Regions from separate parts of the Homo sapiens genome. Here regions 1, 3, 4 and 5 are each linked to region 2. Evidence: promoter capture Hi-C in 16 types of primary human blood cells and fetal thymus (Javierre and others, 2016). All regions are on one chromosome and are shown on one strand. Each heading gives the region's core, a stretch centred on a gene start or on the middle of the fragment in contact. The rest is flanking DNA. Distances are from core to core; before and after follow the strand shown. Region 1 overlaps ECHDC1 (ethylmalonyl-CoA decarboxylase 1). Region 2 holds the start of NCOA7-AS1 (NCOA7 antisense RNA 1). Region 3 overlaps ECHDC1 (ethylmalonyl-CoA decarboxylase 1). Region 4 overlaps RNF146 (ring finger protein 146). Region 5 overlaps ECHDC1 (ethylmalonyl-CoA decarboxylase 1).

Region 1 (5,157 bases), core at 1,687-4,186, 1.5 Mb after region 2:
GTCTACGGAAAATGGAAGCGGGGAAAAGTTTTACAAATAAAATGTTACCAATTACAAAGTGTGAAGTGGTTATGAAAAAAACACCAAGGATTTTAGACACTTTCTAAGTTATCACTCAAATGTAAATATCAAGTTGCCTCAAAATCTCTTAGCTAGTGGAAGCAACTTAAACTAAAAATTTCAGACTTTATTGAGAAATGCCAAGCAATGGGGCTTGAAACAAATTGGTTAACCACACTGAGGACTAAGCTCTGATTTTTTAATCTTGCCCAAATTCCCACCTAAGGGGTCTGGGGAGTCATGCCCTACAAACCATAAATTCTCATCAGATGGGTTTTATTTAACCCTGTATATTGTGACTTACTTTTCAATCTGACTCTGGCATAACATTCTAAGACAAGAAGAAAATATTTAATTCCTAAATACATTTCCTTGCCATACCCTGAAATTGCCCTGCGAAGTTTCTTGTGGGAAAAATCCACATTCTACAGAGCCTCCCCTTCCCGCTTTGTTTTCCTTCCTTTCTTTCCAGATCCAGGAGATAATCAACTAAGAGCCAAGCACCCTTCTAGGTCTGATAAGAAACATTTTACAACCTGCTCTCTCTGAAGTCTGCTGAGAGATTCCTCTGCACAAAAAAACTTGGTCTCCACAATCCTTTATCTTTAACCTGAACATTCCTTTCTATGGATCCCAGGTCTTTAGACAAACTCAACCAAATGTCAACCAGAAAGTTTAAATTTACCTATACCCTGGAAGCACCCCCGCTTTAAGTTGTCCCTCCTTTCTGAACCAAACCAATGTATTTCTTAAATGTATTTGATTGATGTTTCATGCCTTCCTAAAATATGTAAAACCAAGTTGTACCCCAGCCACCTTGGGCACATGTTCTCAGGACCTGAGGGCTGTGTCACAGGCCATGGTCACTCATATTTGGCTCAGAATAAATCTCTTAAAATATTTTACAGAGTTTGACTGTTCGCATCAACAACACCTATATTCTCATGACAGGATGTATTTATGTTTGTAATCTCCATTCATAATCATAACCCTCCCATACTCAACCATTATTCTTTCTGTTTCACCTCCCCTTTCACTACCCTTAGACCGAAGTTCAGTGGTCAAAGTCTATGAGAAAAATAGGAAATATACCAAAATATATCATTCAAAATGAATTCTGAAGCTTTCTTTACTTTTTTAAAGGCAAATTTTTAAAAACATAGTAACTGGATTAGCAATTAAGACAAATATTTTCAAACAGGATGGTATTCTTCACTGGATTATTTAAAGTAGGTAAGTAGATATTTAGCTGCATTCTCAGAAATAAAAACAGTTATTAGTTTCTTGGCATATGGACCATTAAATTTACATTTATATGTAGACTTTTCTGGCCAAGAAATGGGATCCAAGTGTATAGACATATATGCATATGTTAAGAGCATTTGGTAAGAGGTAGTTCTGTAGCAATTCAATGGCTATTTACTGAATTCCTATTAGTGATCACCCCATTGTTAGCGATTTCAGAGAGAAAGCATCTTTAAAAGTTTTCAGTTTTGTCAGAGAAACAAAATATGCACACATAAAGCAAAAATAACTCAAATATCTAATTGAAAATAGAGCAAAGTATCTCCTTTTATTGAGCTCTACTAGAGAGTTCCATTAAATTTAATGTATAATCTTAACTTCATAAAAGGATATCTTTTTTTTTTCCACCAGTAAACCTTTATCATGTAGTCTAAGGATTTTCTTTAGGTATAAATGAATCCAATAACATTAAATCAGTGCATGGAATTATGATGCTTTATTGCCCTTCTTTCTAATTTTTAAAATTCTAAGCAGAAGCACAACCAAAATCAAGCAACATACCAGCTCTGCTAGGGAGTAAAGTAAATATCAAATGTATATACTCACATACATATATATAAAACCAGAATTATCCTACATATGTGTAACCAGAATTTTTATGGTTATGAAACAGTGCAATACTAGTGTTTCACAGCTATATATTACTTCTATAACAAATGACTTTTGTTCACTGAGTTGAAATTTATGTTACATTGCATTTGGCCAGAAAGAAAAGAAACACAGATGTGATGAATGAAGAAAAATACCAGTTGAGTCACCTAACCAGTACTGAAAAAGTTAAGTTTCAAAATACGGGTATGTTCTATTTCTTAACCTAGATAATGCATCCACAGTTATTTCTTTTGTTGTTGTTCTTTAAATTCATCTTATACATTTTACTCTCTAGGTATGTGTGCTACATTTACTTCTCAGGAAACTTTTTCTTTTTAAATAGAAGAGTATCATTCCAAATATTGACAGATGTCCTGTTCAGGAATTCCTTCCAATCTCCTAAACTGCCAGTTGCAAAACTAGTTTCTTCAGACCTCTACTTTACATATTGCATCAGTAGCCACTAACAATAATTACAGCCTATAGATATCTGAAATTTCTTTGTTGACAAGTCTGGCAGCTAAGCAAAGGTCCTTATTAAAGGTAATGATATTTCTTAAAAAATCATGCACAACCAGAAAACATAACAGAAAGGTACATACGAGATAAGCTGTAGCATTTTAGGGGTGATCAGGACAGGGACTGCATCTTACAGCTCTTAACGCAGAATTTTACATTAAATTTTTGTGGAACTAAATGACACATAATGTGGTTATTACTATATAGGTATTATGGTACCTAGTCATCATTTTCTAAACTAAAGATAATATCTATATTTACAAAATAAGAAAAAAAGAACTATTTCAGGCCAGGTACGGTGGCTTATGCCTGTAATCCCAGCACTCTAGGAGACCAAAGTGGGCAGATCGCCTGAGGTCAGGAGTTTGAGACCAGCCTGGCCAACATGGCGAAACCCCATCTCTACTAAAAATACAAAAATCAGCCAGGTGTAGTGGCACACACCTCTAATCCTAGTTACTCAGGAGGCTGAGGCAGGAGAATAACTTGAACCCAGGAAACGGAAATTGCAGTGAGCCAAGATCACACCACTGCACTCCAGCCATGGTGACAGAGCGAGAGACTCTGTCTCAAAAAAAAAAAAAAAGAAAGAAAGAAAAAGAAAAAAGAACTATTTCACTGTTGGGGTTTTTAAAAAATGCAAACCCAGGGGGTGTGGCTACAAGTGAGGGTATCATAGTCAGCCAAATAAATAAATAATCTTTCACTGGCCTCTGGTCAGCTTGCCAAAGAGCCACACCTTCTCCATCACTCCTAGCTGAGGAATCTCTGCTCCTCTTCAGAAAGGGAAGGCAAGAGCTCCTTGTCTGGTTTTATTCATATTTACAAAATGGGTTTATATGCAACATAATCTCTATTGGATCACTAATAAAAATATTGACACTTTTTAAGAAATGAGGTTAATAGACAATACAAAGTCATTCTACATATCTACATATAATACATATCGTATAAGGGTCTAGTTAGTAGTATTCTTCCTACTTTAACTATTTGAACAGATTTTCTCACAAGACTGTTAGGTGTGAGTTAAGGATAACCTGATGCATTTTCTATAACTTTCTCAGAATGAGAGGCAATTTACCCAGTAGGTATTGAGATAAGACTTGACTCACTGTGTCCTTCCCTTCTTCATTCTATTTACTGAGGATGAAGGGAACTTGCTTTCTCCCTCTCTCCCTTTCTCCCTCCTCTCTCCTCTCTGCAACCTAGGGCTGCCTTCAATTTGGGAAGTGTCCCATTCTAAGAAGGCCAAATAGCCTAGAGCTCAGGGTTCCTTAGGAATGCTTCTAGTCTAGGGAAAATAAGCTGTCAAGGTCATGTACCAGTTCAGCTAATAAACCTGGGAGGCCTACATATTCAGAGCCAAACATAGCATGCCTAGGGTCTTGCTTTTGCCTAGAATATGCCGTTAATCAGGTATGAAGATACAACCCAATGAAGCAGATACATGTGGGGCAGAGGCCCCAATTTCCACCTTGATAACTTTAGAATAAAAGTGCTAAAGAAACTTGGTAAGGACTTAGATAGTTGCTTTAAAAGTTTTTTTTTTTTTTGCCTGTCTGCCATAATCCTCTGTTTAGAGGAAGAAACAAGGAGTTAATCTAGAAAATAAGGAGGAGGGACTTATAAAAGCATTAGCATTTTGTGGGAAAGTAGAATCAGTAAACAACATATCTTCTGCTCTCATTGTAAAGGGTCTGTCTGCTCTGTCTTGATACATTACCCCTCTCTCCAACATCAACACTACAGCAATTAGTATGAACGCCATCAGATCTATATCCTTTTATCCTCAAATCTTTAAAACATTAAATATTTAAGTAATAGTAGTATTTTGCCTCATTAGACATCTTTGATCCATCACTGAAATGCCAATTTTTCCAAGAAAATCTTGTAATACTTCATGTATCCTTTCTCTATTAATTCCATATTTTCTATCTTCTCTCATTCTATTCCCTCCCACTACTGTCTCTCCTTTTCTCTCCTCCTCTTATATTCCTTGTCTGTGCCAGAAAAACCTGAGAACACTGCTTAAGCCTGCTAGATTCACTGACCCCAAGTTTAGAAATCCAATTCTAAAAATTTTATAATAGCCTATTATGTACACTTTCGTCCCAGTTCTAAATTCAGAGACTATCTTAGACAAAAGCTCAGTGATGAGATGACAAGGTGTTAGTCATTATTAACCTACTATAGTATCTAATAGTATAAAGTGAACAAAGCTTAAGATTCAGGTTCTGTAGAAGTATGTAGTTAAACGATTGGTTTTTTTTGGATTTCTTCCAGAATCACAGGAAGATGAAAAGGTTCTGAAGCATTTACAATTTTATAAGCTTTCTTCGGGGTAAAACTTATGTTTAAAACTTGCCATGCAGGATGTCTTGCAGCCCCACCACAAAGAAGATTCAGTGGAGCTGAACAAGCTCACTACCAAGCCACTGAAAAGAGGAAAGAAAGTCCATCTGAGATCAAAGGTCGCACTTCCCATTTTTTTCAAGTTCTGCAAAGGTGATCTGTTTCCCTTTAGTGCACAGGAAATAAGTGAGATGTTCTCTAAAAGCCTTTACCTGTTTCACCTTATACTGTAATCACTAAATCCAGAAGACTAACGCAAACTCATACTTAAAAAGAAAACAATTAGCCTAGAGCACGTAATAGAAATCAGAAGCATTTGATTTCAGACTG
Region 2 (5,379 bases), core at 2,078-4,577:
AAGTAAACTATACTTTGCTTCATCCATTTTATTCATATTAGAGGAGTGTAACATTTGGTTCTTCTCTTTCTAGCTTTGACACTTCTCTCAGGCCAGTGTTGCTCAGCGAATCCAGCTGTCATGCTCTGACCTGCAAATTGCTCCAAATCCCATGTTTAGCAACCTACCTTGAATTTTAAATCCTAAGTGCTTTGTTCCTACTGTTCTGTAGCTTAATAGGTTGGACTATAACTGAAAATCTCTGACACATTTAAAGCTTATCACCTTGTGGGGAGTCTATTACTAAGAAATATTTTTGTAGGTAGGTGAAATGGGTGAAATTATATTTTTGAATCAGAGTCATTTTTAAGGCTGGAACTTGTCCAACATAAATAAATTTGTTGATATCTGAATAGAAGTAATGTAGTATATGATTGGTTACCATTTACAGATTTAAATGTCTATGTGGCACTCACTAAACATAATAAAATGAATTATATGCTAAACATTTGTAAAACATTTTGATAAGCCAGAATGTTTTCAGACTCAGAGAACATAGGCTTAAAAACATTATGTTTCTCCTAAATTGAAATACATGTTAAGAACTGAATTTAGCCTCATTCCATCCCCAGTCCCCAGGCTGTGCTCATTAGAGATGCATTTATTATTTTCTAAACATGAGCCTTGGAGCCAAAACCAAAGTTTGTTGTTGATGTTTTTATCTAGTAATTAAGCTAGATTTTAGGTTGATAATGGGAAAAGGACAGAAACAATTTAAGGACCTACTATGTACTGAGTGTTTTACTTATTATTTTAATTGCCTTCAAAATAAATCTATGACATCGGTTAATTTATCTCCATTTTACCAGTGATGCAACTAAGACTCAGAAAATATTTTGTCCATTTCATGCAGCATAAGAGTCAGTATTAAACATAAGGCCATCTCCAAAAGGCATGCTCCAGTTAGGAATAGTAAATCATGAATAAGGTTTTGGGGAAGCACAAGTTAAACTACCAATTGTAGTAAAATATTTTCTGCTATTATGACTACAGAGAGTAACCAGATTAGGGAAGGAAGACATCAGGCATCTAATGGATGAGGCACCAGAAAGATAGGATATTTAGAATAAATAAGATCTCCAAAGTTTTTATTTTGAGATAATTTTAGATTCACATGTAGTTAGTTGTAAGGAGTAATAGATACCCTGTATTCTTTATCCATAGTACAGTATCACAACTAGGAAATTCATATTGATACAATCCACCAGCCTTATTCAGAGCATTCATTGTATGTGTGTTTGTGTGTATTTAGTTCCATGCAGTTATATCACATGTAGATTTCTGTGGTCACCATCAGTCAAGATACAGAACAGTTGCATTAAAAGGATCCCACATGCTACCTTTTTGTATCCCTACTCACTCCTTCCATCTGCCTGCCTCCTCTGACAACCACTATAATTTGTCATTTCAAGAATACTAGGTGAATGGAATCATATAGTATGTAACCTTTGGCATTTAGCTTTTTCTTCCCTTCAGCATTACTCCCTTGACATCCCTCAAAGCTGTTGCATGTATCGATAGTTTGTTCCTTTTTATTGCACAGTAGCATTCCATAGTATGGATGAATCACAGCTTTTTAGTCATTTACCCATTGAAGGGCATTTAGGTTGTTTCCAGTTTGGGCTATTTATGAACAAAGATGCTAGATGCTACAATCATTTATGTACAAGTTTTTGTATGAGCATGAGTTTTCATTTCCCTGAGATAATTGTCTGAGAGTGCAATTGCTGGGTCAAAAGATAAGTGTATTTTTAGTTTTATAAAAAAGTGCAATACTCTTTTCTGGAATGGTTGTAACATTTGACATTCCCATCAGCAAAGTCTGAGTAATCCAGTTTGTCTGCATTGTCATTTGGTGGTGTCAATATTTTTTATTTTTATCTTAGCTATTCTGATAAGTATGTAGTGATATCTCATTATGGTTTTAATTTGTATTTCCTTAATGGTTAGTGAAGTTTAACATTTTCATGTGCTTATTATTAGCCATAGTGTATCTTCTTTAGTGGCATCTCCTTTCCTATCTTTTGCCCATTTTCTAATTGAATTGTTTAGGTTTTTACTGTTGAATTGTACACATTCTAGTCTTTTGTTGGATATGTGATTTGCAAATATTTTCTCCCGGACTGTAGTTTGTCTTTTCATCCAGTTAACAGAGTTGCAGAGCAAAAGGTTTTAATTTTGATGTGGTTCAATTTATCAGTTTCTCCTTTTATGAATTGTGCTTTTGGTCTGAATTCTAAGATCTCTTTGCCTAGCTGTATGTTCTGAAGATTCTCTCCTGTTTTTCTTTTCTGAAAATTTTATAGCATTATGTTTTATATTTAAGTCTGTGATCCATTTTGAATTTATTTGTGGATAAGATATGAGTTTAGGTCAAAATGGTGGTCATGCTTCTCCTCCCCTTCCTCCCCGTCTCCCTTCCTCACCTCCTCCCTTTCTTCCTGCTCCTCTTCCTGCTCCTCTTCCTCCTCTTCTTCCTCCTCCCCCTTCCCGCTTCTCCCCCTTCCTTCTTTCTCCCACCTCCTCCTTCCTCCTCCTCCTTACTTTCTTCTTCTTTCTTTTCTTTCTTCTTCACTTGCCCTACATAGTGATTTTAAGAGCTATAGTGCCTTCTCAGCCTGAATCCAAAGTGATTCCTGTAGTAAAGGTAACTGCCGGTTCATGAACAACCTGCTCAATGTTAACCTCTTCTTGTTCCTAAAATGTAGAGTCAGGGGAGCCCCTGAAACTGAGAATACAAACCAAAACTGTTCTGGAAGAGCAGCACAGTTTTTTCAACTCAGAAATGTAAAATTGTCTTGCTTATCATGACCTCTTCTGAAAAGTATTCTAAAAATGAAACAAAAAACGTATCCTAAAATGCTGAAATGTGATCTTGGGAGCATAGGGACAGTGGCACAAGGATGAAATCAGTGATGCTCTTAAGACAGTAAGACAACATGATTTGTAACTAGGAAATGAGAGAGATGGAGAGAGGAGAATGGAGAGAAGAGGGGGTAGGAGCAGGGAGAGAGAGAAAGAGACAGAGAGAGAAACACTGACTGACAAACCTGTAGTTTAGCTCTTACAATGCAGTGGAAGCCAGAAATGGTCAAGCTATTAAAAGCAAAAGGCAAACCAAAGAGAAAAGAACCCCCTTCAGCCTATAATCAGAAAAGAGCCATCCAAAGTTATACATCTTTTCAAATGCCTTCTGACTTAACTGTGGAATTACCATGTGGAACTAGCAACAGAACTTACTTGAAAGCTGGTTTCTGACAATGTAGAGCAGAGTTCTCTGGAGCAGCGTACTTAAGGGCAGTCCAAGCAAGATCTCTGGAGAGAAGGATAAAATGTCAGGCCAAGGGTGAGGCCAAACTGATGCAATCTCAGTTTTCTCTAAACTAAATTATACCACCTTACATAAATCTCAACTGGTGTTCTGAGGAAGTCAAAAGGAAGATTTACCCTGATGCTGTGCCTGCTGCCACAATTACATATCTGAAACCCTAAAAACTGCTTTTTAGCCTGCTTCCCCCTTCCACCTAGGAAAAACTAGGAACACCTAGTTTTTCCTCCTGAGTAGTTAAATAGCCAATGTTTTCTTTGTGTGCTATCTTATCATGTGGTTTCATAATCGTTGTGTGACTGTGTTTGATAAATAGTCCTTTGCCAAACCTGTTTTGTTGACGTTTCGCTCTTTAACATCAAAATAGAGTTTAAAATACCCTATTTTAATAATTTTGGATTGAAATTAGTGATTTGAGGGTCACCCAGTCTTTCCTTTCTTATAATTTATCTTGAAATATGCCTGTGTAACTCTAAATAGAGGGGTGGATTAATACTGCTACTAGATAGAGTAATTCTGGATAAGACCTGATGAATTTTTTGGATTTTCTGACCCTGGTCCAACTGGTTTTCAGGTGCTTCAGGATAGTTTTATAACAGTTGTTAAATCTAGATTGAATGATTTGTGAAACTTTTTCACAAATGGTTTTGCAAATAATTTATATATGCAAAATTAGTATATGTCTATATTAATTTCTTGATCCCTGACAGGTCTTGAAAACCAAATGAAAAACTGAATTACTAAAGCAAATTATACTTTCTGTACTATTTGTACTGTGTACAATTTATGCTATCCTCTGGGGTGACTATCATGTGTCATTTGTTACACCCCTGCTGACTCTTCCTTCCCCTTGTAGTTAGAATGCAAAATTTTCTTTAGTATTGCCATACAGGGCTGTCTTCTTACACACTTGCTTGACATTATTTGGCTTTTGTGATTTCCGAGTAGGTCCTTGTATGCCATTGGTTGAAGATTCTTTGAAAGCATTTTTTCAGGATCAAGCGTTGATTGAAGATATCCAAAATACATCTGTAGTTGAACCAAATGGTGTTTTGTGGGAGGTTTACTTTTCCCCTCTGATAAGGTGTGAGAGCCTGGGAGTAAACAGTGAGTAATATAGACGAAGACACAGACTGGGTGTTCATGTAGGTCCCTTGTTGGCTCCCACCTCCCCTATTCCCTGGTTGTCATGAAAAGCAGAACTGCTGCTCCCACCTCCGCTTTCCTCTTAACCCAGCCTTTCAGAGCAGCAGTAGGAGCCAGCACCACCTCTGTCATCATTCTCAGTGACAAAGGATGCAAAGTGTAGAACATTTCTTAGCTCCCATCTCCAGCCTCTGCCCTGGCAATTCTTCACCCTTGAACCTCTGACCCACAAGCAGAACACCTAGTGTTTGCAGTTCACTCCAGTGTATAACCTCTGGCAAGTCTTCTAAGCTTCCTTTACCTTACATTTCTTCAGTTGTTAAATGTTGCTAAAAATAACCAACTAACAAGATGCTTTTGAAGAAGGAGACATCCCAACCAGCCAGAACTGGAGAGAAGCTCAAATGGGACCCAGCAAGGAGGGCCAGAGCTGAACAGCTGGTCCCCTTATTCTCTTTTCCATGGCAGAGGAGATTTGAACCCACTGTATAGCTTTCTCTGTTGTGTGAATAGTACACTTTGTAGCTTTCGTGTTCAAGTAAAATGAAACCAAGATGGCTATGAAGATTGAGGGTAATATACGAACAGTACCTGATACAGTGAGTACTCACACATTCCTTTAATAACAAATCATTCCTGATCTTACTTCTGTGTCTACCTACATCTTCACCTAATTTTCATCTTGACCTCCCACTTTCAGCCCATGAGCTGCTCCTGTTGTTCAGATCAGGGAAGAAGGAACACTTAACGACAATCCAAATTGGAACCATATCATTTCCCAAAGATACTTTGCTATAAGCACAGTTAGTTAGGTTCTGGGATATAATGAAGTGGAGTTATATAGTCAAAGGGCCTTGAGAAACCTA
Region 3 (4,946 bases), core at 325-2,824, 1.5 Mb after region 2:
CAAACTATTTGCCATCCCTCTAACACCTTACACTTATTGTGGCTCCTGTGTCTTTGCTTTTATCATTCCTACTAGTTGTAATAGGCTGTCCTTCTCTCTACCTATTTCAAGGAATGCCCAGATCATATAATATTTTTCCATCAAGATTTTCTAAATCTCACAATAACAATTTTCTCTTTTGTGTTTCAACAGTATTTTTATTTTTATGCCTTAATTATAGTACTTATAAATTGTGTTGTATGAATATGTGTTTAGATGCATTATCAGACACATCATCTCTACAAGATGGGGACTAGAGAACCTAAGAAGTTCTCAATAATTTTGCCAGAGATACAGAAATACAACTATCAAAGTACAGGTATTATACAAAGTGCTTGAACAAACTCAGAAGAGTGTCAAAGAAGAAATTATTCATTTCAATTGGGATGGGGGTAGTTAGACAGGCTTTAGAGAGGAGAAGGGAAGGTGGCATTTGCTAGGTCTAGACAGTAAGTCCCTTGATGGTGACAGTATGCCTTCCCCCTCCTCAGACGCTAGTAAAATGTTTTGCACATAGTGTTTGTTGAACTTAAAAAAATTAGATGAATTTTAGATGGAGAACTATGTTGATTTATAAAACAAATGCAGTCAAGAAAAAGTAAAAGCCAATGTGGAAGGAATTTCCTAATCCAAAGCTGTTATCAGGAAGATCAGTGTATCTCACGAAGTGATGAGAAAATTAACACAGGCACGAGGAGCTAAAAAGCTTTCAAAGTAAACTGGTTTATTCTCTGCTAAAAACCTTTCCAATAAAATCTGTTCTATTACCTATATCAAGTAATTTTAATATGCATATTTGCTCTTGCTACATTTAGATTACATAAAATTCCAATGAAGTATCTAGAATTGGTAGAAATAAAGGTGAAGCAAATTATTAGCCTGTGTACTATTATAATTTTCATTCAAAAGACAAAAGGCACGCTAAAAATGTCTATTAGAAGCAGTATGAAGTAAACGGTTAGGAGCACAGTTTCTAAAGCCAATCTGCCTACATTTGAATCTGGGCTCTAGCACTTTCTAATTAGTTTGACTTTGCCCAAGCTGCTTAACCTCTCTGTCCTACAGTCTCTTATCTGCAAATTGTGCTAACAGTAGTATATATTTTATTAAGGGAGCTAGTAATGATTAAGTTATGGCACAAAATAAGGTTAGAACAGTGTCTGACATACAGTAAGAGAATAAAAGTTATCTATCATTATTATTAATATTACTAACAATACTGGCAATAGATAATGAGTATGTTTTGGTTTTAAGTGTATCATAAAACAGAAGTTTAAGCAGTAATGGCCAACATGCCCTAGAGATGAGAAAGATTTCATTAAATTTGTCCTCCAAAGTTATTAAGCCCACAATGGTTAAATGCTCTGTCCTCTCACTGGGTTGAAGAAAGCAAATAAGCCAGTAAGAGATATCTGTGATAGAGTAAGCTGTGGGTGAGGAACCAGTAAAAAGCTAGACCTGCTCTAATGTATAAAAGCTGGAAGCTGAGAAGTACTAAAACAAGGTTTTCAAAGTTGCTGCAGACAGTGATATTTTCATGCTATCTGGATGATACCTGAGATCCAACCCTACTCCTCTAGCTCCTTCTCATAAAACAAGGATAAGAAGAACAATGCTCAACCAAAATGCCAAAAGGAATGATTAACATCATATGTACTCTAAGCCATGTTTAGAGTGGAAAAATGCCCAGCCTGTAGAAGTATCTTATTTAGAAACAAAAATAAGCCCTTTCTTAAGTGCTTGTTGTATGGATTTATTAATTTCCTCAAAATACATGGAAGAGCTTAGAGAAAATTAAAATAGTTTTTTTTTTGCTAGAGTATTGCTCTGTCTCCCAGGCTGAAGTGCAGTGGCGTGATCTTGGCTCACTGCAACCTCCACCTCCTGGGTTCAAGTGATTCTCCTGCCTCAGCCTTCTGAGTAGCTGGGATTACTGGCACCTGCCACCATGGCCAAGTAATTTTTGTATTTTTAGTAGAAACGGGTTTCACCATGTTGGCCAGGTTGGTCTCGAACTCCTGACCTCAGGTGATCTGCCCACCTCGGCCTCCCAAAGTGCTGGGATTACAGGTGTGAGCTACCGTGCTTGGCCGCTTGTCTGTAAATTAATCAGGGTATGGTACAATAGTAGTAGCAAACACAAGGAAGTCAGACAAGAACTTTGAGGTCACCATAGAAACATAAGCAACAGAGATCGAAGGAACAATAGATTGGGAGAAAAGTAACAAGGAAAGTTAAGGGACAAAGGAGGATATAGTCTTCAAGGTAGATTAAGAACAGAAAGGTTTCTAAATGCCAGACTTTTCCTTGAGGCATTATACTGATCCATTGAAGACTAAGCAGGTTTTTATTTCTCCATATTCTGAAGCTTATAACTGCACTTTGATTACTTATTCCCTCTGAAAAGAAACTTCTTATAGCCTACAGGACATCTGTGGCATCAAATCCAAGTCTTAATATTTAAATATATTTTTTTCTATTTTATTCCTTTGTCTTTCCAATACATAACTTTTCAGCAGGGTTAATGTTTGTGTTATCCTAGTGGATCTCCTGGCCTCTACCATCTGAACCAAGAATTAACTGCCTAATAGGGACAGTTGGAGCTCTTTTCCTGCACAATAACCAAAGCATACCAAGACGCGATCAACTTCTTATGGGATCAGTTACACTTAAAAGAAAAAAAAAGTGGAATAATAGATAAGAAATATAATAAAATATTGATAGGGTTGATGCTCTTATGGGTACATGAGGGTTTCACTGTATTAGTCTCTGCTTTTACCTGTATTTTGTAGTTTACATTAATAAAAAGCTTTTTAAAACTGAAAAAATACAGTAGTAAAAACATCAAAATAATTATATTTTTATGATAAAAAAGCCACTTAATCACTTCCAAGCATTTTATCACTATTAGAAGGGAATATAATCTAATTGCTAAAATTGTCATATATTTCAGTTATCTCATCATCCTCAGAAAGCAAATTCAGCAAGTAAGTAGATGCTAGTGATGCATCTGTAACAACAAAGAGTAAGTATTTGGATAAAGAAGAGCCTCACTAACAGACAAACTGTTTATAACTTAAAGCCATGATAAGTTTCAGAATGTTTCAGCCATGAGGGGTAGATGCATTTATATGTTGCAGCTGTAACTCATATATAATACATGTATAAGCCTCAAAAGTCCTGAGGCCATTTTAAGTTTCAGCTTTACACAGATTTATAGTTCCTTCTCAAGTATATAGGAATATAGTTTATAGGAAACATGGAAATATCGGGAACTTTACATAAACTATTTCTAGTTCTTGTTAATTTTAAAATCATAATGTGATAAACACATTCCATACTTTATATGTATTGTTACAATTCTTAAAATTATCCATATTCAAAGTGCTTACTTTTATGCTATATATTTCTTATACTATGACTTCAGAGATTTCATTAAAGGATAATAAAGAATTCATCTACCCTATAAAATGCTTTTTCAAATAGCTGGACGTCGGGCCAGGTGCAGTGGCTCACGCCTGTAATCCTAGCACTTTGGGAGGCTGAGGCAGGTAGATCACCTGAGGTCAGGAGTTCGAGACCAGCCTGGCCAAAACAGTGAAACCCCATCTCTACTAAAAATACAAAAACTAGCCAGGTGTGGTGGCGGGTGTCTGTAATCCCAGCTACTTGGGAGGCTGAGGCAGGAAAATTGCTTGAACCCAGGAGGTGGAGGTCACAGTGAGCCAAGATCACACCACTGTACTCCAGCCTGGGCAACAGAACCAGACTCCATCTCAAAATAAACAAACAAAAAAGTAGCTAGGCCTGGTGGTTCATGCCTGTAATCCTGGCACTTTGGGAAGCCGAGGAGGGCAGATCATTTGAGGTCAGGAGTTTGAGACCAGCCTGACCAACATGGTGAAACCCTGTCTCTACTAAAAATACAAAAATTAGCTGGGCATGGTGGCCCACGCCTGTAATCCCAGCTACTTAGGAGGCTGAAGCAGGAGAATCACTTGAACCCAGGAGGCGGAGGTTGCAGTGAGTCGAGATCGCTGCCACTGCACTCCAGCCTGGGTGACAGAGCAAGACTCTGTCTCAATAAAATAAAACGAGATCAATGTTTTAAATAAAATAAGATTCTGAGTTCTAGGCATACTCATTGTAAAGCAGATTCACCATTCCACATTTCCTTGATAAGACTGACAGATGTATACAGCAACAAGTGACGAACACTTGCAGTAATACTACTCCTCAGCTGTTAACCAAGATTTACTTCAGGCACTGAAAAGAGCAGATTACTTGGAGAATGTAGGTACTAGAAAGAATGAACTTTACTAAGTGATTCCTTATTTGAAGCTGGAATAAAAACTCTCTCCATGTTTTCCTGCATGACTTATGCCAGACCAATGATGTATATATACTATATATATATGTGTGTATATATATATATACAATGATGTATATATAAAACAATAAGCATGTTTCCACTTCCATCTCTAAATATATAGAAAAAGAATCGTGGTCACATGATCTAAAGAGACAGAAACAACCTTCTAACTAAAAGAAAATTAGAAAGTAAAATAACCACTCACTTTTTAGAGATGTTTTCCTAACCAGCTTATATCAAACCCACAACAGTCTATTATATCATTCTGTCTTTAACAGTGTCTTTCATGAACTAAGGTGAACAGTGATACAACCATTTGAGAGATGAAAAATACATATATATAGGTTGAGCTATGAAAATATGAAATCTAAACGCTCCAAAATCTAAAACTTTTTGAGTGCTGACATGATACTGTAAGTGGAAAATTCCACACCTGATCTCATGTACACAAACTTTGTTTTGCGTACAAAATTAATGAAAATACTGTATAAAATTACCTCCAGGCTGTGTGTTTAAGGTGTATATGAAATATAAG
Region 4 (4,664 bases), core at 1,762-4,261, 1.5 Mb after region 2:
CTATTTCACATTTTCCCAGTTTGACATAAAACTCTTGCTTTCTACTCTTCCAGTATGATACTGGTTACATGTAATGATATGTATTAACAATAATTAATTTATTATTAAAAGTATGACCATATTATTTTTATTCAGTATTGAAAATTTGATAATTGAAAAATGATACTAATAAGCATTTGTCTTTAAAAATATATATTTTATTTAATCCTGTCCATTTATCTATCTGTATACATTTTTTAAAATCTTAATAGGTCAGATAGTCTAGGTGCTGGTCATCAAGGAACTTACTGTGATCCAGTAAATGAGACATGTATGTAATTAACAAACAGTGGAATAGATGCCATATTAAGGTAACAATCAGATGCTATTGAAACTGAACAGAGGAAGAGATTAATTTCATCTGAAGGGTTCAGAATGAACAGAATAAGTTTCACCTTGCCTTCAAAGAATGAGTAGAATTTTAACAGTCAAAGAAAATTAGGAAATATTTTTCAAGCCAAGGGAATGAGGAGGGAAACAGCTGCCTAATCATCAACACATTTTAGAGGAGTCAGGGAACAGTAATATGTGGGAAGGCAGGGTAGGAGAAAGAGACTTCAAAATAAGTGCAGGGAGTGAACATTTATTTAGTACTTACTATATTACCAGATTTTACATTTATTTAACATACAATCAATCTTAATTGATTTTGATACTTAGGGACAGAGTATATTGATCAGTCTTGGAGGAGTTAGGGGACAGTACTTACTAGATGTTGAGGGGTTAGCTTTGTAAACAAGTAGCAGTACCCCATATTGAGCCAGGAGGAATAATGATAAGACAGTAAAGGTAAAGATAGATTTTCAGGATTTATTTTTGACTTACCTAATTTCTCAGTGATACAGGTGTTAGTATATCGATAAACTAGGAGGGAGAAGTTTTATGATAGTCTCTGGGGAATAGGGAAAGAAAGATGTCTTGGCCGAGTAAAAGTTTACTGGGATTGATGGTGTTTAGGAAATCAAAATAGCTATTAAGTGTGTGGGGTTCACAACTTTTGCACCACACAAAAGTGAATTGTATGGTGAAATTTTTGTCACTTAGAGTAACTTGCTTGATTATTCTTTTTTGCGAATGTCTCCCTTGTTGGCTTTTGTGGTGGTGGTCTATCTTTATTTCCTGTTCTTCTCTGACCATTCCTTACACCCCTTCCTGGCTATTTTACCTCACAGATATTGGAGTAATTCAAGATTCTGTGGTTGGCCCTTTTGACTGCTCTCTCTACAGGTTTAATTTGGGCATTTACTCATTTTCATGGCTCCAAGGACCATGTATGTGTTGGTGAGTCACCAGACTTTTTTCAGCTCAGATTTATTCTTGGAGTATCAAACTAGTAAATTCAGCTGTCATCTACCTATCTCCACCTGGAGACCTTAATAAAGTCATTATGTCTGAGACAGAACTCTCCTCAAATTCTGAATTTTGGTGAATGTGTCACCATCCATCAGTAATCAAATGCTTTCATTTCTTTTTCCTTAGCATTCTTCTATTCTATTGTTGGAAACTTACATCAGCAACCTCCCTCTAATTATCTTATACTTGCATTACTACCTGGATATTCTAGTTTCCCTTTCGCCATACCTCCTCCTGCATTACCAAACTTTCCTCCAACCTGCTGTTCAAATGGTCTGGAAGCTACTAAACTGGCTGTTATTTCCTGACGTAAAACCTTTCAGTGAACTCCTCTTGTCTCATTAGTGGTTCATATGTGGACCAGCTTCATAGAAATCCTTAAGCCCCTTGAAATTATATGTAGGATTGTTCCCTTTTTGTGTGTCTGTAATTGGATTCTAAATTCAGACTTTAAAAATCTGATTTTTAATATTTGGAGTTTTTATTGCAAGCTAAAAATTTCTTGAATACTACACATACTAAAGATCTTTTTTGCTTATAATAATTTTGCCTTTCATTTGACTAGTTGTCCAAGAAGTTTCAAGGAAATCTGAGTTCTTGGAGATTTCCACTAACTCTGCCCATACCCCTCTATATTTTGTCTTCTTGAGAAGAAGACTTAGTATTAATAGACTCTTATTAGTCTGGCAGAAATATTTCACATGGTTTATCTATTGGAAGAAGGGGATTTATACTTAAAAGTTGGAATATCACATGAAGAATTCAGTAAAAACGTCTTTGAAAGTAAATGATGTATTATACTTATTAATAGAATTGGACTAACGTCACTCCAAATTTCTGTGTATTAAATTCTTAGTTTAGTAAACTGGAAATAAATTCCCTTTTTCAAAATTAGAATTTTCTGAGACATTTATGAGATAGGGAATACCTCTTTTGATTAGCATTAATACTTGCTCTACACAAAGGGAGGGGAAAAGCTTTCTTATTTACATATTGGTATGATCATCTGCATACATTTAGTCTCCCACCTATTTTAAGATCATTGGAACTGCAAAACAGAGACTGTGTAGGGTAGATTAAAATGGTTTTTTAAAAAGCCTTGAAGTATGTCTTATAGGTAGACTAGCAGTTTGGGGTTACTTTGTGTCTATCTTGTTACACATTTTATCTCTATCTTACTTATTGCATGTGCCTCATTCAGAATTAAATAAGAAATATCACTAAGTTTTTCTGCCCATTTGTTAGTTGGTGATAGACTAACAGTATACTTGATGGGCTAAACAGAATCAGAATTTATAAATTGCTATGGCAAATTGATAGTTAAGAGTGCTTCAGATGAAATAATGACCATTTAGCTGTCTGGTGTCCATTGTTTGCAGATTAACTTTGTCCAACTTCACTTCATTCTGATGATGGAACCAAAATACCTGCACAAACAGGATTGTTTTGCCTTTCCAATTATGTTATTATAATTCATGCCTTCTCCTGGGATGATTGTAATTGCTTTCTTAGTTTTGAAATTATGTGTTTTGGTTTATTCATAAATGCAAGAGTAAGAGTCATGCAAAATATTAATCATATTAAGTAGGGTGGAGGATAATGTTTTTAGGTTGGAAACTTTTTTTTCTGTAGATAAACGAGCTGTATGTGATGGAAAACTGACTTCTTGGGCCCATTTTACTTAAAGCAAATACAATAGGTTTGGAATTATGTATTTAAAAGCATGGCATTGGTCCACGTGACATGTTGGGTGTCTTGTTTTCATTTTACCAGACTCTGTTTTTATTTATGTTTTCAGTTTATGATCCTGTCCTTTGTTCATAAGGTACTTAGATGGTTTAAGATGTAGACTTCTTATATGAAGATGTTGCTGTTGTTTTTCCAAAGTAATGGTGGTCATCAGCCCATTTTTCTATTTAGTCTCATGAATAGAATCATGAGTAGAATCTTTCTTAAATTATTACTTGTAAATGGATCACTTTCTTGTTTTCTTTTTCTTAATTGGAGCTTTAAATAAATATGGAACTTGGAACAAAAAGATTTTCAGGAATTTTATGGAAACTAACTTTTTTGACCTAAATCGAAAGGGATGAAAGTTTCTGAAAACCTAACAAAATGTGTGCACAGCCAATTCTTTTAGGGGAGGAAATAGGCAGGGAATGTGTAATTGGCTATTTTAAAAACATATGCCTTCTTTTGTAACTTATTGTTGTTTCAAGTTACAAGATCTTTGAAGGCAAGTGTTTATCTCAAAATATTTGAAAGCTTTTATAGTGCTTAACATACTAAGACGTCCTATTAGGGTTTACTTAGAACAAGCTTATCCAACTTGTGGGCCACATGTGGCCCAGGATGGCTTTGAAAGCGGCCTAACACAAATTCATAAGCTTTCTTAAAACATTATGTGATTTTTTTTTTTAGCTTATCAGCTATCATTAGTGTTAATGCATTTTATGTGTGGCCCAAGACAATTCTTTTTCTTCCAGTGTGGCCCAGGGAAACCAAAAGATTAGACACCCCTGACTTAGAACTTTCCATAGGTTAGGAGAAAGTTGTACTTTCTTGATGTCTATAACCTAGAATTTCTGGTAAAGGAATTGATTGGAAATGTTATTAAAAGTTGAAAATAATTTGGAAATTAAACATTTTAGTGATCAGTTCTTCCATTGAGACTGTGTTGGTTCCTTTACTAGATATGTGCCATCTTTTTAAAAACTTACTGTGTTGCTTCCTTTACTAGAAAATTGCCATCTTTTTGAGCCTTGTCTATTGAGGAACCAAGAACACAGAAAAGGCAGTAAAAAGAAAAAAAAGGATTGTTTGAAGATTGAATGTGCTGTGATGATAGCCTAGGATTATTGTTTTTCAATTTTTGATGAGCGTAAGCATTCTTGTTGACTATATCTTTTGTAACTACTGACCCATTTAGAATGGCAGAATTAGCTGGCAGAGAGATTGTCATTCATTTTAAGCTTTCAATCTCTGACATCTTCATCTTTATTTCTCAGTCTTTTTTACTTATCAGTGGTTTACTCCATTATTTTCTCCCCTTTTAAAATGTCTTTTTTTTTTTTTTTTTACCATGGGGAAAAAAATTAGATGTTTCCTTGGCAGGGCACAATAACACAATAAGGCTTTCATGACTTAACTTTTGATTACCTTTACACCTTCATCTCCTGCTCTTCCATTGCTTGTATGACTATTTGACTCAGTGTCTTGCATGTGCTTCTGCCTGGAATCTGCTCCACTGCCCAGCCCCTCTGAATGAACAC
Region 5 (4,809 bases), core at 845-3,344, 1.5 Mb after region 2:
AGAATCAAGGAATGAGTGTTTTAAGTACTTCCTGAAGCACATTCTGGAATCTTGATCTTGAAACCAAGCTAACCATCCATACTACAGGTATAATTATGTTTAAAATAATGTCTATATCAGAGAATCCTTTATAAATAAGGTATACAGTCATGCACTGAATAACAACATTTTAGTCAGCAATGGACTGTATGACAATGATCCCATAAGATTATAATGGGGCTGAAAAATTTCTATAGCCTGGTGACATCATCGCCATTGTAATGTCATAGAACAATGCTTTACTCACATTTTTGTGGTGATGCTGTTAAAAACAAACTTACTGCACTGCTACCTGTACAGAAGTATAGCACATACAATTATGTATGTTACATAATACTTGATAATAATAAATGACCATGTTAATGGTTCGGGTATTTACTGTACTATATTTTTTTTTTTTTTGAGAAAGGGTCTCACTCTGTCCCGCAGGCTGGAGTGCAGTGGTGCCATAATGGCTCAATGCAGCCTTGACCTCCTGGCCTCAAGCGATCCTCCTGCCTCATCCTCCCTCAGGAATGGGACTACAGGCGTGTGCCACCATGCCTGGCTATTTTTTTTATTTTTTGTGTCTCACTATGTTGCCCAGGCTGGTCTCCAACTCCTGAGCTCAAGCAATCCTCCTGCCTTGGCCTTCCAAAATGCTGGGATTGCAGGCATAAGCCACCACAGCTGACCTATACTTTTTATGTTATTTTAGAGTGTTATTTTACTTTTATATGTAGAAAATTAAATGTAAAATAGCCTCAGGCAGGTCCTTCAGGAGGAATTCCAGAAGACAGCATTATTATCATAGGAGATCACAGCTCCATGCATGTTACTGCCCCTGAAGATGTTCCAGTGGGGTAAGATGTGGAGGGGTAGGACAATGATATATGTGGAGGGGTAGGACAATGATATGGATGATCCTGACTCTATGTAGGCCTAGGCTAATGTGTGTGTTTGTCTTAGCTTTTAATAAAAAAAAAAAAAAACTTTTAAAAAAGATGAATAAAATAAAAATAGAAAAAGCTTATAGAATAAGGATATAAAAAAAGAAAATACTTTCGTTCAGCTGTAAAATGTGTTTGTGTTTTACATGAAGTGCTATTACAAAAGAATAAAAAAGTTTTTTAAAATTAAAAAGCTTATATAGTACAAAAGTTACAGTTAATACTGTCTTCTGGAATTTCTTCTGAAGGACCTGCCTGAGGCTGTTTACATTTAATTTTTTATGTGTAAAAGTAAAAGGAGTACATTCTAAGTGTACAGTAATGTCCTAGGCCTTCACATTCACTTGCCACTCACTCACTCACTTACCCAGAGAGACTTTCAGTCCTGCAAGCTCGATTCACCATAAATACCCTATATGAGCATTCAATTTTTTATCTTTTATACAGTATTTTTACTGTACCTTTTCATTTAGATACACAAATACTTACCATTGTGTTACAACTGCCTATAGTATTCAATACAGTAACAGGCTTTACAGGTTTGTAGCCTAGGAGCAATAAGCTATACCATATAGCCGAGGTATGTAGTAAGCTGCACCCTAGATGGTATCATTAGGTTTGTTTAGCTACATACTATGATGTCTGCACAACAACAAAATCACGTAATGACACATTTGTCATAATGTGTTCCTATCATTAAGCAATACATGACTGTATGTGGGTACTATTACTGTTTTCTAAAAAGCATCTAAGCAAGCATTTAAAAAAATAAAAATACAGTTTACAAAATTAACTTAGAGTAACAAAGTTAGCACTTTTCACTGGCAATCAAACAGAAATATAAAAGTTAGCAACAAATCTGACAATTAAATTCCCTATGCCAAGCCCATACGTGGTAGGTAGATTGGCCCCGAAGAGATGACCTAATCTCTGGCAACTGTGCATGTGTTACCATACATGGCAAAAGAGACTGCAGATGTAACTAAAGTTAAATCCTTAAAATAGGAAAATTATCCTGGATTAACTGAGTGGACCCAATCTAATCATGAGAACACTTAAAAGCAGAGAAATGTTTCCAGCTGTAGTCAGAGAAATGCAGCATAAGGATAAATAAGAGAGATTCAAAGTATGAGAGGAACTTGACTCACCACTGCTGGAGGAGCCACATGGAAAGCATGAGAAAGAATTCAGAAAGCATCTAGGAGCAAAGACTCATCCCCCATCTGGCAGCAAGGAAACAGGGACTTCAGTCCTTCAAGTGCATGTAACCAAATTCTACCAGTTGGAACCTGGGTGAGCCTGGGAATGAATCCTCCCCTAGAGTCTTCAGAGCCCACTGCAACTGACACTTAGATTTTGGTCTCATGAGACAAGGTTTAGAAAAACCAGCTGAGCCCAGCTAGACTTCAGACCTATACATCTGTGAGATAATAACGTGTTGTTTTAAGCCACAGAATTTGTGGTAGTTTGTTATAGCAGCAATAGAAAACTACATGTATTAGCATTTTCTTAATTTATATTTCATTCTAAATATCTTTAATTTGTCAAGGTGGATTAAAAAATGAGAGGCTATATTACCACATTTCTAGCTTTTCATTTCCTCACATTAATTTTGTCACTAAAATGGAAACATAATGCTTGACTAGATTCTGACCATTGAAAAATACCAATTTTTAATTCATGTTAGTCTTTTACTTTTAAAAATGTTTTTTAAAAGCCATTTTCTCTTGGAATATTTTACATGAAAAGTATGACTCAAGTGAGGGTCTATCTATGCAAAGTAGAACTGAGTGTTTCCGACATACGTATACATTACATCTATTACCAGCTGGTGCTCACAGGGTTTTGCGGGAAGGGGACAGTGTTAGAATGCTACATGAGTTCATTTCTTTTATATATTCATATTAAGTGTATCTCCATCTGCTGAAGTACTTCCATTGGCATGGATGAAAATGTCAGTTGAGTGAATTCCAGGCAATTCTCCAAGGTAAGAAAGTTAAACAAGCGAAAAGGGCCAACACATATAAAGAAGGAACTTATCTTTTTAGCAAACGCTATGAAAGCTTTCGGTGTTTTTTTAGAACAAGCAGACATTCTTAGGAAATAATTAAAATAATCTGTCATAGAAAGTAACTGATGAGGTACTGATAAAATTAAGTGGAAAAAATCAGCTAGAGGAACTTGTACTGATTTATCACTTCCTGGAAACTGGGGCTAGTAATGTAGTTCATTCAGTATGCAATCCTCTCTATTAGCCTCTAACATTTAAGAACTATAGTTGCTTTTGGTATGCGGGTTTTAAAAGGGCTGAGTAGCCTAGGACAGTGCTTGTCAAATTTCTCTGGTCAAGGATCAATTTCTTCTTCATTTTTAAAGAAACTTTCTAATCGATTGCAGACCAATAATTTTGTAAAATATAACAAAAACATATTACTAGAAAAATGAAACAAAAAACCAAGACACAAGGTTTGTGAATGGCTGTGCCTAGCACATGTGGGTGCTGAAATATGTTTAATAAACAGACACCACTTTCAGAAAAGCTGGTTCAAAAATGGATAGGTTTTCATCAGAAGCTTCTCAACAAAAGCACCTGGTATATCCAGATACTGAGAGTAGGCAGTACCCTCAGACATCTTGTAACAAATAAAATTAAATATTTAATGAAGCTCTAGGATGCATTACATTTTCTTCAATTAGAGAATGACAGCTAGGCAATTTAGCAGTATTAAAGGATTAAATAATCTCTGATTATTTTTCCTGCTATTGTGCTTTTTTGTCCTAAACCCTAACTACACTTAAACATAGATGAGAAATCAATATGAAGAATAGTACAAAAGTCTAATAAAGGTGAACACCGGAATCTATGTTAGAGGGTTTTCACTTGTTCCAAATAACATCTAAAAAGTCTTAATTTTCATTTCCTTTTACACAGAGGATTTTTCAGTGTAATAATGCACACTTGCATGTAGCTTAAGATTCTTTTTTTTTTTCTTTTTGAGACAGAGTCTCGCTCTTGTTGCCCAGGTTGGAGTGCAGTGCCGCCATCTCAGCTCACTGCAACCTCTGCCTCCCGGGTTCAAGTGATTCTCCTGCCTCAGTCTCCTGAGTAGCTGGAATTACAGGCGCCTGCCACCATGCCCGGCTAATTTTTGTATTTTTAGTAGAGACGGGTTTTCACCAAGTTGGCCAGGCTGGTCTCGAACTCCTGACCTCAGGTGATCCACCCACCTCGATCTCCCAAAGTGCTGGAATTACAGGCCTGACCCACTGTGCCCAGCCTTAAAATTCTTTTAATTATATACTTAGATGTACGTTTTATATTTATATATGTATTGAAATTATATATTTCATAACTACCTGTATTCAGTGTAAAGTGAGGAATGCATTTAATACTTTCACACATACAGCATTTCCTGTTTAGTCTCATATCAAGCATAAAGCCAATGACTGCTTCCTCTTCGCAGAATAAAATGTAATAATAGCAGCATTCTAATGCAATCTGCACTGATGACAGCAGAGGGCACTGTCATATAAAATAACTTTTTTTTATTGTGCATAAGAATTTTGTGCATTATTGAACACTAGTTTTCAAGAGGCTAGGATTTCTGTAAACGGTCTTATATACCAAAAAAACTAGAAAATCTCTATTTGTGTGAGCATGAAGTGACATATTTTAACTGATGAATTGAAACCTGAGTCATAAATTATAAAAAGAAAAATTAATATAAAATTTACTGTTTTTCATAAGTTAGCATACTGAAACTTTTCTCATTCTATTTCTACTACTATATGATGCCATTTATATGAAGTCAAAAAAATAAAAAATATATTTATTATAGAA

What was found. Contacts are between HindIII fragments. The CHiCAGO score rates a contact against its expected background, and 5 or more counts as called.
Region 1: a contact is called between a fragment that was not itself captured here and the fragment with the promoter of NCOA7-AS1 in region 2, in 4 of 17 cell types (M2 macrophages, M0 macrophages, M1 macrophages and 1 more). The highest score is 16.4, in M2 macrophages.
Region 3: a fragment that was not itself captured here is called in contact with the fragment with the promoter of NCOA7-AS1 in region 2 in 2 of 17 cell types (M0 macrophages and M1 macrophages); the score reaches 5.8 in M0 macrophages.
Region 4: a fragment that was not itself captured here is called in contact with the fragment with the promoter of NCOA7-AS1 in region 2 in 1 of 17 cell types (M1 macrophages); the score reaches 6.3 in M1 macrophages.
Region 5: a contact is called between a fragment that was not itself captured here and the fragment with the promoter of NCOA7-AS1 in region 2, in 1 of 17 cell types (M0 macrophages). The highest score is 7.0, in M0 macrophages.

What each region holds. Positions count from the first base shown.
Region 1 is chr6:127,336,729-127,341,885 of GRCh38, forward strand. All of the region lies in intron 1 of ECHDC1 (ethylmalonyl-CoA decarboxylase 1), which reads right to left. LOC105377994 (a long non-coding RNA gene) reads left to right here. Exons shown (of 4, transcript XR_001744334.2): 3 at 2,072-2,141; 4 at 4,759-4,931. Among named protein-coding and RNA genes, the nearest start is that of ECHDC1, 4.3 kb to the right of the region's middle. The HindIII fragment of the contact is 3,511 bases long and covers 1,182-4,692 here.
Region 2 is chr6:125,815,531-125,820,909 of GRCh38, forward strand. NCOA7-AS1 (NCOA7 antisense RNA 1) reads right to left here and starts at 3,328. Exons shown (of 3, transcript NR_126386.1): 1 at 3,280-3,328. The region is part of intron 2 of NCOA7 (nuclear receptor coactivator 7); the gene reads left to right. RefSeq lists an enhancer at 2,553-3,054. The HindIII fragment of the contact is 4,548 bases long and covers 255-4,802 here.
Region 3 is chr6:127,318,186-127,323,131 of GRCh38, forward strand. All of the region lies in intron 3 of ECHDC1 (ethylmalonyl-CoA decarboxylase 1), which reads right to left. LOC105377994 (a long non-coding RNA gene) reads left to right here. Exons shown (of 4, transcript XR_001744334.2): 1 at 1-4,946. Among named protein-coding and RNA genes, the nearest start is that of ECHDC1, 23 kb to the right of the region's middle. The HindIII fragment of the contact is 1,662 bases long and covers 744-2,405 here.
Region 4 is chr6:127,281,076-127,285,739 of GRCh38, forward strand. The region is part of intron 2 of RNF146 (ring finger protein 146); the gene reads left to right. Among named protein-coding and RNA genes, the nearest start is that of RNF146, 17 kb to the left of the region's middle. The HindIII fragment of the contact is 1,288 bases long and covers 2,368-3,655 here.
Region 5 is chr6:127,298,453-127,303,261 of GRCh38, forward strand. The region is part of intron 5 of ECHDC1 (ethylmalonyl-CoA decarboxylase 1); the gene reads right to left. Among named protein-coding and RNA genes, the nearest start is that of RNF146, 34 kb to the left of the region's middle. The HindIII fragment of the contact is 1,869 bases long and covers 1,161-3,029 here.